Linked DNA regions of Homo sapiens: all the other regions are linked to region 2. Evidence: promoter capture Hi-C in human tissues and cell types (Jung and others, 2019). All regions are on one chromosome and are shown on one strand. Each heading gives the region's core, a stretch centred on a gene start or on the middle of the fragment in contact. The rest is flanking DNA. Distances are from core to core; before and after follow the strand shown.

Region 1 (4,198 bases), core at 243-2,742, 1.3 Mb before region 2:
AGTTGTTTAAAATTATTCTAAGCATTAAAGTATTACTACTCCATTGAGACTAGACCTTATGTTATAGATGTACAGACTGTCTAAGCAACAAGGAGGACCCATTTCCTAAAGCAGTAGTTTCAGGAGATGAAGGAGAGGGGAGAAAAAGGCCTTTCAGCGTTACAGGCTGGTTACAGAGAGGCAGTCAGGCTCTCAGAATTGCAGTTCCAGAAGTGGTTGCTGCTGAAATATTCAAGTTTATGAGTGGATTGTTTCCTGAAAAAATCCAGGATTAAGTTGGAGGGTAGTTGGTCTAATCAGTATGGCTACCCAAAGTAGACTGCCTGCAGCAGGAAGTAGGACTTGTTACAGTATAACCAGCTCACAGTTTGCAATTTATCATCAAAGGTTTGTTTTAATGCAAAATACTAAACTATAATAGGAAGGCTGTTGAGTACATTTATGAAGCACAGTCTTATGGGCAAGGGCTTAAAGACCTTTAGATTTTATAACTCAGGTCATTTGATTTGATAGAATTGAGTAATGTGTCTAAATCACATAGGCGAATGCAGATTTTGCTGACTTTTGTGTGAAATTTGTGACATGAGTAGCTAGGCTGTGGAAAGTATCTTAGTCTGAATTTAGAGATGTATGCTATTACTACTTTAACAGCAGATTGTGTGAAGTTTTATGTGGACTTTTCTTGTCAGACAGGTTATTTAAACTTTTATCCTTCTACTGATGTCATGATTATACATTTTAGACCACAGGGAATTGGGTAGAATTTACTCCCAAAAAGGAGATCAGTAAGTCCACGGAAAATATTTGGGTTAATAAACATCAAGAGTTAATATGATTTCATCTCAGGGGAACGAGGGTGAGTGAGAGCATAGAAGAGGAGATGGATAAAATTCTATGAAGAATTAGGCAACAGCCTTCATTCCAAATACAATTTCTTTGATTTGGCTTAAAGATAGAAATGACTTGAACTGGAGGGTTATGTCTATGTCTGTGACTTCCTCTTGGAATGGGGCCTGTGAAATCTTTTTGGTAGTAAGTGAATACAGAGGTGCATATTGAAATAGCAAATGAAAACAATAGTCATGACCACTGAATTCCAGCCCTGGGATATTATCTGGTTCTAAATAATGGAGGAGAGGTATTGTGATACTTTGTTCAGGTACTTAAGAGGAGATGAGCTTGTATGTAAAGAACAAATGTAAATAAAATTAAAAATGATTTGTGAGGACTACAGGAAGAAAAAAAGGCAGTAGCTGATACAGACTATCATCTTTGGTCTAAGTGGAACTAGAGGAATATTATGGAATGCTCCAAATCTACTTAATGTCGACACACATTCTCATGTATGGTACTTCATTTGGTTTCTAAGAAAACCCATAAAATCCTTAAACTTTCAAAATAGGGTGAGACTGATGATAATGAATATTGTGTAGATAGCCATGGGAAGGATGCAGAGTTGTTTTATTTGGGGCAAAAGATGGATTTAAACATTTGACAAACAAGCTTGCCTAAATTGTCACATTCTTGACAAAATTTAGCAACTCAGTGGAATAAAAAGGAAAATGGAATTAGTGTGGTGTCAGACAAAGGATATTTGGAAGAAGTAAGATCATCTAGAAGAATTTACAGACTTTGTCTTTTTCCTGGGTTGATAAAAGTTTATCATTCTGCCTCATCCCCAAGGATATATTTCTGGACCAAGATCAACTATAGTATCTTCAGTTGACTTAAGGAGAGAAAACCCTTGCACTAAGAAGCTTTTAGTGTCAGTAAAGAAAAATGGTGCACTCCAGCCATATTGAATATTAGGGCTAGTGCTATATGCTCTGTCTAGAAAAGAATAAGCTCATTTCTGAGATGTAGAGTCTAGGATGATGCTGGCAGGTCCCATTTTCTTTATTGTTAGTGTTCTTCTAGACATGTAGCAAATTGGAGAGTACATAGTTATAATGGGGTTCATGCGAAAGCCAAAAATCAACTTTTAGTAGCAGCATTTACAACAAATAAAGGTTAAGAAAACACACCATCTAGCAAATAAATTATAAACACTTAACTCAATTTTAGGAGATGGTTTCTTAGAAAATAAACCATAAAATGGGTGGCTTATAAACAACACGCATTTATTTTTCGGTTTTGGAGGCTGAGAAGTTCAAGATAATGTGCTTGCAGATGTGGTGTCTGGTGAGGGTTTCTCTCTCATAAATGGTACCTTCTAGCTGTGTCCTCCCTTGATAGAAGAATAAAAATTCTCCCAGGCCACTTTCATAAGGACACTAATCCCTTTCACATGTGTTCTGTCCTCATAATGGACCCAACCGCCAAACACCTCATCTTCTAATGCTATTAACTTGAGGCTTAGGATTTCAAGATATGACGTCTGAGGGTACACATTCAGACTACAGCAATTTCCAAGTTGTTACCTCTTTACATTCCATACAATATGATGTCTGCTTGTTGAATGTCCAAACATCTGAGATCCTCAATATTTTCCTGGAGTATTTCTTGGAATTTCATATTCCATTTTCCTCTTATTAGTTTTTGAAAATGCTAGATCTACTGACAAAGTTGAATGACATTAGGTAGCATCCAAAACCCAATCCAGTGATTAGATTGAAGTCAGCAGTCAGATAGACCAGATAAAATAATATAGCAAACAGGGCATATTATTCTGGAGAATCTGGACATTTAAAGAACAAAGTAAACAATCAAAAGAACAAATGATCATTTATTGTTCACATGGTAGGAGTTGACATTACTGACTTGAAACTAAAGATTACTAAATTTTTTTTCATCTGGAAAGATGAATTGATTTAAATCTCTCTACAAATTTATTTACTATGTCCTCAATTTGCAATAGTGGAGCTATATAGTGCACCAAAATTTGAGATGATAATTACTGCCTAAATGTTTAAGCTAGTTTGCATAGTTACTGCCAAAACATTTACAGCTTGCTTCCATAGTTCTTACTGAACCTAATTTCATGTAAGAATGCACCCTCCCATCAAACAATAGGAAACATGAAGCCCTCTTTTACTTTTGCAGAGCTGAAGGCAATTATGGAAACTAAAGTTGTCTTTTATATCAAATACCTAGAACAAATAATAAATTTTACTTCAGTTTGAACTATGTGATGATTATAAAATACATTTCAGAAATGACTAACTAAATGCTTTAGTACAAACATGTTTAATTCTTCTTTTCAAATATGTTTTTTCACTTGAATATATAAATTTTAAGGTTCCCCTATTATAGTAATTCTGCTAAGATCCAAATAACTGTGTTATTACAATTGAATGATCATCACGGTAGCTTATGTGATAATATAATAATTAATGATAACTTAGTCTATTGAAATTTCCACGTAATTACCATTTATCCAGGAACAGGGAGGAGAGAGAGGAGATGGTGTTTTCATTTATATCTTGTTTAAGAATATTTCTAATGTATACTAGCTCACATATCTGCTTTAGTATGTTGAGTAGATTGAATGTAATTTAATCTTTCTTTGAGAATTCATTAATTTGATAATGCAATTATCATTTCAACTTTATCTACTAAAATTGAATTAGATTGAAATATTTCTGATTCCAGAGTTAGTGTGACTTTATGTTAAAATTGCTTTTTCTCTACTTCTCTTCATCTCCTTAAATCTTCAAGAGTCCATGCAGCAAGTTGAAACTGAGGTTGCTTACCACTTGGAAGGTAACTCTTTAGTCCCCTGAAAGACCAAATAGGAATAAAGCTGTGTCTGAGAGGCAAGAGAGGTGAATGGAGCAAACTCTGCCTGAGATCTTTGGGGCAGGCTGATCTAATTTCACTCCTTTGTGTGTGTGTGTGTGTGTGTGTGTGTGTGTGTATCTGTGTGTGTGTGTTTTTTCAGAGTTCTGCAATTCCAGTGGTCAAGAATTAGCCCAAACACTAGGTAGTAATAAACAGTAATTTTAAAAATATTGTCTTGCTTATATTTCTTTGGGACTAGAATGCATGTATAGCTACTTGTAGAAGTCTAAGCCTCTATTGTCGTAAGAAAATTAACTTCAAATATACCATATGTATCCTAATTCAAATTCTTTGATCTTATGTCATTTTCATAAATGCCAAGTATGGAATACAATGCTATTTTTTGTGGAGTTTCAATTACTGACATTCAGGTAACAACATTTGGTTACTGTAAGGATTATAGACTGACATGTTGGTA
Region 2 (4,040 bases), core at 1,541-4,040:
AACCACATGAACCTCTGCTATCTTCAAACTTTTCTTCTGCAGTTTACTCATTTCTCCCAGACTTTAAGATAATTCAGAATCAGGGCCTTGCTCTGGATCTGGCTTTGGTTCAAGGAAATGTTGTGGCTAACTGGATCTTCTACACGGACCACTCAAACTTTCTTCATAGCAATAAGGCTGTTTATCTTTCTTATCATTCATGTGTTTAGTGGAGTAGCACTTTCAGTTTTCTTAAAGAACTTTTGCTTTGCATTCACAACTTGGCTAACTGATACAAAAAGCCTAGCTTTCTTTTGACAAAACTTTCTCACTAATCTTGATCATTTCTAGCTTTTGATTTAAAGTGAGACACATGCAGTTCTTCCTTTCACTTAAACACTTAGAGGCCATTGTAGGAATATAAAATGGCCTAATTTCAATACTGTCGTGTCTTAGGGAATAGGGAGGCCCACGGGGAGAGAGAAACAGGAGAATGTACTGGTCCCGGGGCAGTAAGAAACACACAACATTGATCTATTAAGTTTGCCGTCTTATAAGGGCATGGCTGGTGGCACCCCAAAACAATGACAAGAGTAACATTAAGAATCACTAATCACAGATTGTAATGAATATATTAATGGAAATATTTGAAGTATTGTGAAAATTACCAAAATATGACGCAGAGACACGAAGCAGGTACACGCTTTCGGAAAAATGTTGCAGATAGACCTGCTTGATGCAGGCTTGCCACAAACTTTCAATTTGTAAAAGCGGTATCTGTAAAGCACAATAAAGCTAAACACAATAAAAGGAGGTATGCCTGTAATTCCTGGTATGAAGTACCATAATTCTCCATTTTTTTCCCATTATTTGTTAATTTATTTCACATTTACTGAACTTATCTTGGTGAGACACACTGTGTGGCTGGAGAAATAGCAGGGAAGGAAATAGACAAGGCTCCTGCCCTTAGAGAGCTAGCTCTCTAGTAGGGGGAGACAAATCATTAACAAGTAAACTGTGCTAGAGTGAGGATTCAAGGGCCAACAACTAAATTTTGGTCCTTGTTTTCCTGGAGCCTACATTTTAGGGTAATTAAATAAAATATAAAAGACCTCAACACTGACTGGAACATAATAATTGATCAGTAAGTGTAAATTTTTATTACTGCTTAAAAAATTGGTTACAATCTGCCATTGAATTCATTGTTCAAGATTTCGTTCTGAATATTGGTGATGTGTTTTTGCCATTTGACTACCTTCTATAATTTGCCTTGCCTGTTTATATCCTTGGTCATAATTTTTCTGGTTTGCCTTTTACTAATGGACATGTAGTTCTGAGGCAGAATAGGGTCTGGAGGCAGGGAATGTTAAGGCCGATTCATGCTGACTTCCTGGAACTAAATCAAATTGCAGTACTTCAGCAATGACAGGAAACATCCTCTCCATTTACACAGGGCTTATATCCAGTAAATGACTTTAAAATTTACTTCATCCTCTTCATTTACATAGGGCATAAGCCAAGTAACCAATGGAAACCTCTAGCTGGCATTTAAACCCCAGAACATTCTCTAACGGCACTCTTGAGCCCCTATCCTCGGGCGCTCCCAACCTATGGGGTGTACTTTCATCTTCAATAAATCTCTGTTTTTGCTTCATTCTTTCCTTGCTTTGTGCGTTTTGTCCAATTCTTTGTTCAAGACGCCAAGAACCTGGACACATCAACTGGTAACAGCTCTTCATAGGATAAACACATGGCAACCACTTGTCTATTACATGTGCAGATAGTTTCCTTGTACCCCAATTGTCTTTTAGGTTCATTAAGGTCATATTTAAACATGGACTTTTGAAATTTGTTGTAGCTAAACCCGTATATAAGCATTTAGGCTTCCTCCTTCTTTGGGTCTTTTCTTGTGGACTCCCATGCACATAGCTGTAAGCTTTTCCCCTGTTAAACTGTCTTAAGTCAATTTAACCTCTTAGGCCCAGGTGGAAACCTTAAGAGGGTAGAGGGAGATTAGGTTCGCTCACTATTGGAAAAGCCTGTATTGCAACAGTGACGCTCTGCAGCTGCAGATAGGTGGCTTAAAGTTTCTTCCAACAAAAACATTCTGTTTCCACAAAGCAAAGTAAGGAAAGCTCTTAACGGAGTGTTCCCTAAAGAAAGCTTTTTTTTTTTCTTTGAGATGGAGTCTCGCTTTGTCGCCCAGACTGGAGTGCACTGGTGTGATCTTGGCTCACTGCAACCTCCGGCCTCCCGGGTTCAAGCGATTCTCCTGCCTCGGCCTCCCGAGTAGCTGGGCCTACAGGCGCGCGCCACCATGCCCGGCTAATTTTTTGTATTTTTAGTAGAGACGAGGTTTCACCATGCTGGCCAGGCTGGTCTCGAACTTCTGACCTCATGATCCGTCCGCCTCGGCCTCCCAAACTGCTGGGATTACAGGCGTGAGTCACCGCACCCGGCCAGGAAGGAAAGCTTTTAACCCGACGGCTCAGGGAGGACACCGGTAGCAGGACTAGAAGCAGCACAGTGGAAAGTAAGTTTGGCTTGGAAGCTAGGTCAAGCATGGGTGATAGGGAATTCGCCACTTAGTTTGAAGCAAATGGCCTCCTTGTTAAAGCTGAGTGCAGAGGGCCCGGCAGCAGTACTACAGCTAGCAGAACCAGCCCAGAAAACGAAGCCTTGGAGACTTGAGGTGGGTAGTGCCGGACGCAGAGCACAGGGCGCGGCTCCCACTTGCCTCCGGCTCCCGGAAGCGGGCGGGGCCACCTCGCGTCCCGGGGGCTAAAACCTGCGAGCGAGGACCGCGCGCCAAGGCTCCTCAGCCGAGCGCCGAGCGGTCGATCGCCGTAGCTCCCGCAGCCTGCGATCTCCAGTCTGTGGCTCCTACCAGCCATTGTGTAAGTGCGACTGCTGCCGGGCGCGCGGGCCGCGGAAGGGGGCGGCCGCCTCTCGCTCCCCAGGTTCCCGGATGGTGATGGGTTCGCGGAGAGAGGCGGCAGGGGCAACCCCTCGGACCTCATAGCGGCCCGCGCGGCCGGTCTCCGGGGGCCCCCGCCCGCGGCGGTGCTGTAGGCGAGCCGTGGCGGGTCCCCAGCGCCGGGTGCTGCGCCGCAGCTCAGCTGGCTCCTGGGTCCCGGAGCGCGCCGCTGCCGAGTGCCAGGTTCAGGCGGCTCCCGTGCTGTTGGTTCTGCGCGATGTTTAATTAAAACTGAGAGTCTAACTTCACTTTTTTTTTTTTAATGCAGAGGCCAATAATCCGTTATGGAGCATGCCTTTACCCCGTTGGAGCCCCTGCTTTCCACTGGTACTGTATTTCTTTCCACGGTTTAGTGTCACTGACGTGCCCCTCCCCAGCGACGGGAACAGGTCGAAAGGACGGGGCTCTAGAGCCAGCGTGACTTCCAGCCTGGGTTCTGTCCCTGATTTCCTAGCTCTGTACCGCTAAGCATATCAGCCTCTCGCCGGTCTCATTTTCCTCATCTGAAAAATGAGCTTACGTATCAGTCCTTGCTGTGAGGACGAAATGACAAGATACAGTGTGTGTAGTCCGTGTGGAGCCCAGTAAGCGCTTCCCGGCTGTTGCGCCTCCACCAACAGCGCGAACAAATCTGGAACATAGCGGAACATTAGACATTGCAGGCATTAAGGACGGTCATCGTTGCCTGACCGTGATGCATTTTTAATCCATTGAAAGTGCCCCGAGCTTATCTAATAAAAGATTGGCAAATGATTATATCAAGTGTTTTAAATCTATATAACACTCAGGATATTTTATTCTTCTAAGATTTGAAATTACTGTGTAACCGAGTTCAGGCTGGGCTGCTCGCTGCTTGCAGAGCCAATCAACAAGGACGAAGGGCCCGGAAAGGAAAGTGACTACTTTCCAAAGCTAGCAATGGGGAAGTAGTCCAAGCTTCTGCCTTAACGAAACCATTTCAAATTTGGACAAAATGTAAGAGCTTATAAAGGGGCGCTTGGTATTGGGGCTCGGGGGCCCCAGTCTACGTGACTTGCTCAGATATTTATCTTGGGTTTTTGCCTCATCTGGTGAATGGGCTGGC
Region 3 (4,085 bases), core at 1,337-3,836, 1.3 Mb before region 2:
GTAAATTGATCATCTGTAAAGAACGTATTTTAGCAGAGACTGTAATCTCAGATACAATCTGAGATACAGATACTGCATGAGTTTATTACAGATTCTGTATTAGTCCATTCTCGCAATGCTATAAAGAATCTACCTGAGATTGGGTAATTTATAAACAAAGAAAGTTTAATTGACTCACTGTTCCACATAACTGGGGAGTCCTAAGGAAACTTACAATCACGGCAGAAAGGAAAGCAGACACCTTCTTCACAAGGTGGCAGGAGAGAGTAAATTCGAGCACAGGAAACAACTGCCACTTTTAACACCATCAGATTGAGACTCACTCACTATCACGAGAACAGCATGGGGGAAACCGCGCTCATAATCCAATTACCTCCCTCCCTCGACACGTGGAAATTACAATTCAAGATAAGATTTGTTTGGGGACACAGAGCCAAACCATATCAGATGCATAATCATCTAGTACTTGCTGGTTATTGTTTATTTTATGTCAAATTAGATGAAGCCTAAGTCTTTGAAGTATGTTGCAAAGTTAAGCCGCAAAGATGCTGAAAGTTTACAAATTATAAAGCAAGACCTATAATATTCTATTTGAAGGTGCATATTATTGAAGTTCTGAAACAATCTTGTTATAACACTACATTTCTTAAAAACAAACAATTGGCATGGAACCCAGGAAGTCACAAATGTAATAAGAATGAAAGATACATTTTAAAACAATCCTTGGACTTGTTGGCAGCTTATAAATGCATACCTCTCTAATAAAAACTATGTGAGATAATGAATATATTAGTGTTCTGATTTTAGTAATCAGTTTACTCTGTATATCAAAATATTATATTGTACACCTTACATTTATAGGATGAAAAATAAGTTAAATGAGAGAATAAACCTCAGTCGCTATCTCAATGTATTAACAATCCAAATAATTGAAATCTTATTAAAGTAAGCAAACTTTTGAAACAGTAGAACATAGTAATGCCAAGGGGAAATTCTTAAGAATATGAGTCATATTACCTTTATTCACATTAAAAAATAACTACAAATATATTGTAAATGTTGGGTTACAGTTATACTCTCAAAAATGTTATGTGAAACTATGTAAAGATTGGAAACAATATTATTCGTTTTCTTTAAAGTCAGCGATTGATATGGTTTGGCTCTGTGAACCCACCCAAATCTCATCTTGAATTGTAACCCTCTTAATCCCCAAGTGCCAAGGGTGAAACCTGGTTGGGGGTGACTGGATCATAGGGATGGTTCCCCTATGCTGTTCAAATGATAGTGAGTGAATTCTCACAAGATCTGGTTGTTTCCTAAGTGTGGGGATCCTCCCGCTTCATGCTCTTCTCTCTCATCTGCCACCATGTAAGACGTGCCTTTGCTTCCCCTTTGCCTTCTGCCATGATTGTAAGTTGTCTGAGGCCTCCCCAGCCATGCAGAACTGTGAGTCAATTACACCTCTTCCCTTTATCAATTACCCAGTCTCTGGTATTCCTTTATAGCAGTGTGAAAACAAACTAACACAGCAATAAACAATACACTTTGAAATAAAGGTTATTTAGAAAATTGCCTCTTCAAAATGCTTGCTGTTTCAATAACATACATATGTGTTAAATTATCAAAGTTATTTTTATTAGCAAAATTCTCTAAGCTAAATATAATTGAATTATCACAAACTTTAATACTGACCTAAATTCTTTTTAAAAAAATTATTAAGAGGCAGAGTCTCACTCTTGTCTCAGCTGGCTGAAATGCAGTGGTGCAATCATTATTCACTGTAGCTTTGAACTCCGGGGCTCACGCAATCCTTCCACCTCAGCCTCTCCAGTAGCTAGGACTACAGTACAGACACACACCACCACACTTGGCTAGTTTTTAAATATTTCTTTGTAGAGAGAAAGTCTTGCTATGTTGTTCAGGCTGGTCTCAAACTTCTGGCCTCAAGCAATCCTCTTGCCTCGGCCTCCCAAAGTGCTGGGATAATACGCATGAGCCACCACGCCCGGCCCGACTGCCTATATTTCTAACCAGTGAAAATTTCTTTTCTATTTGCTGATAGACAATTAAGCGGGATAATTTACTCTTTCAAAATTTTCTTTTCATTACACGTTTAACAGAAGACTAATTCCAAAACCACTAAATATCTCCTCATCAAAGTGACTTCCAAACTTGGCCAATGTTGGAATTGTGAGGTTGTCCTCTTTTTCTTGGAACAGTCTTTTCCTGCTGTTTGCTTGGCTTTTTCTTTAGGTTTTAGCTAAAATGTTATAACAGAAAGAGTTTCCTTAATCACTCACTGATGACCTTACCTGTGGACTAATTGGAATGATTCAATAATTTTAATTTCTATGTTGTCATACCTATTCAATAAAAGAGAACTTTAAGGTAAATTATTAAGATAGATAAAATATTATAAAATGGACAGTGCAAATAATTTTGAAATTAAGAAAGCATAAGTAGGATATGTGACTTCATAGAAGCATAGAATTAAATGGCAATTTTTAAACTAAAATGTAGAAAACTGAATGTGTTATGTGGAAGCTGATAAAGTGGATAATAAAGAAAATAACTGGAAGATACTTTTAGTTCCAGGTCTAGAAGATTAATCTTTCAAAAACATGCTGATGCTCAATGCATGTTTCTGAGTAGTCCCTCTTTACCCATTTCTTAGGGAGCAGTTGACACAGTACAACTCCAGGAAGGAAATGCTTGAGTAGCTAGCATGGTTTGTCTTTAGCGCCACCACTTGAGACTTTGTCATTTGAAAATCCATATGTGGAAACAAACACAGCATGAGAGATCCTCTGAATACTGTAATTATACACATATAAATGAACAAATAGCAGATCTAAAAGCTTTTTTTGAAAAAAAGGCCCTATTGATGCCAATTTGATAAAAGAAACAATGTCATTTTTATTTGCAATATTCTGAAATCTCTCTTTGAAAGTAGATACATGATTCTAATTGTGCCAACAACACATTTTAAATTCCAAAAATTGATACGTGGGTGATTATATGCTCTGTAAAACGAAAATGCCTCAGATTATTGCATATAATAATTACCTATTTTATCACAATATGAAGACTACTCAAATTGCAGTAACATTTTTCTAATATACTTTGGGCAAAGAGTAGATAATAAATTAAAATTTAAAAATGTTTTATTTCACACTGAGCAAATAAGTATAAACTATCTTTTAAAATAACTGTAGTTGTCCTATTACTTTTAAACAACAGTCCCTTTAAATATTTCTGTTTCATTTTTGGTTTTGACTCATACAGATATGTAAGTTTTAAGGCAGTTTTTTTTTCTGTAATACCAAGATTACTTACAGACACACTTGTTTGCAACTAACATTATATTACAATTATAATACTTCTTAGTATGATGCTTTTAGCTATCAAAACACAACAATGTATATTTGTTGCTATAACCTAGCTATAAGCACTTTAAGAAACAATTTGTATACAGAGCTAACCCATTTCAATTCCATTTTCAATTGTATTTATTTAACACTGGTTGTGTACCTAGAAATATTTGGGTAATTTGGAGGACATAAGTAAATATAAATCACAGTGTTTTAAGGAATGTGTTTGTCTTCAAGGTATTAGTTGGCTATCTATAAAAGTAGTAGCGACTAAGTCTTAAATTATATTTAATTAGATTCTATATTTGTCTTCAAGTATTTTACGGCAGTAGAATATTGGGTAAATATTAAGCTTTTATTTGAGAAGCCCAACTAGAACTACTGGCTGGAATTTATGGGAGTGTAAATCTGTATCAATGCAAGGAAGGACTTGACAAAAGTAAGAACTGTATAAAGATGGAACCAGTGAGCTTTAAAATGCTTGAGCATCCTTATACTTTGAATATTACAGCACAGAGGTATTTGGGCTAATTTCATGTAATGGTATAATGCAACCAGTACAGTACCTAATATGATGAAACATGTTTACTAAAGTCTAGTTCCTTTAATACAACCATTCCCTAATACCTATCAGCCTAAGGGAAAAAATACAGGCTCTGCTCATGCAGATTGTGGACTAATAGAAAAGAGAGTAATGTGTTTTTAGTAGGCATC

The links. The method cuts DNA at HindIII sites, captures the fragments that hold promoters and counts their contacts. A contact is called where the count stands out against the background at its distance.
Region 1: a fragment that was not itself captured here is called in contact with the fragment with the promoter of TPK1 in region 2 in 1 of the 25 tissues and cell types used here (dorsolateral prefrontal cortex).
Region 3: a fragment that was not itself captured here is called in contact with the fragment with the promoter of TPK1 in region 2 in 1 of the 25 tissues and cell types used here (dorsolateral prefrontal cortex).

The regions. Positions count from the first base shown.
Region 1 is chr7:146,107,451-146,111,648 of GRCh38, reverse strand. No RefSeq gene overlaps it. Among named protein-coding and RNA genes, the nearest start is that of CNTNAP2, 7.3 kb to the left of the region's middle. The HindIII fragment of the contact is 3,572 bases long and covers 1-3,278 here.
Region 2 is chr7:144,834,803-144,838,842 of GRCh38, reverse strand. It overlaps TPK1 (thiamin pyrophosphokinase 1), which reads left to right and starts at 2,790. Exons shown (of 9, transcript NM_022445.4): 1 at 2,790-2,876; 2 at 3,225-3,283. The coding sequence starts at 3,241. RefSeq lists an enhancer at 2,580-2,649 and a silencer at 2,950-3,049. The HindIII fragment of the contact is 4,228 bases long and covers 1-3,172 here.
Region 3 is chr7:146,128,106-146,132,190 of GRCh38, reverse strand. The region is part of intron 1 of CNTNAP2 (contactin associated protein 2); the gene reads right to left. Among named protein-coding and RNA genes, the nearest start is that of CNTNAP2, 13 kb to the right of the region's middle. The HindIII fragment of the contact is 4,906 bases long and covers 134-4,085 here.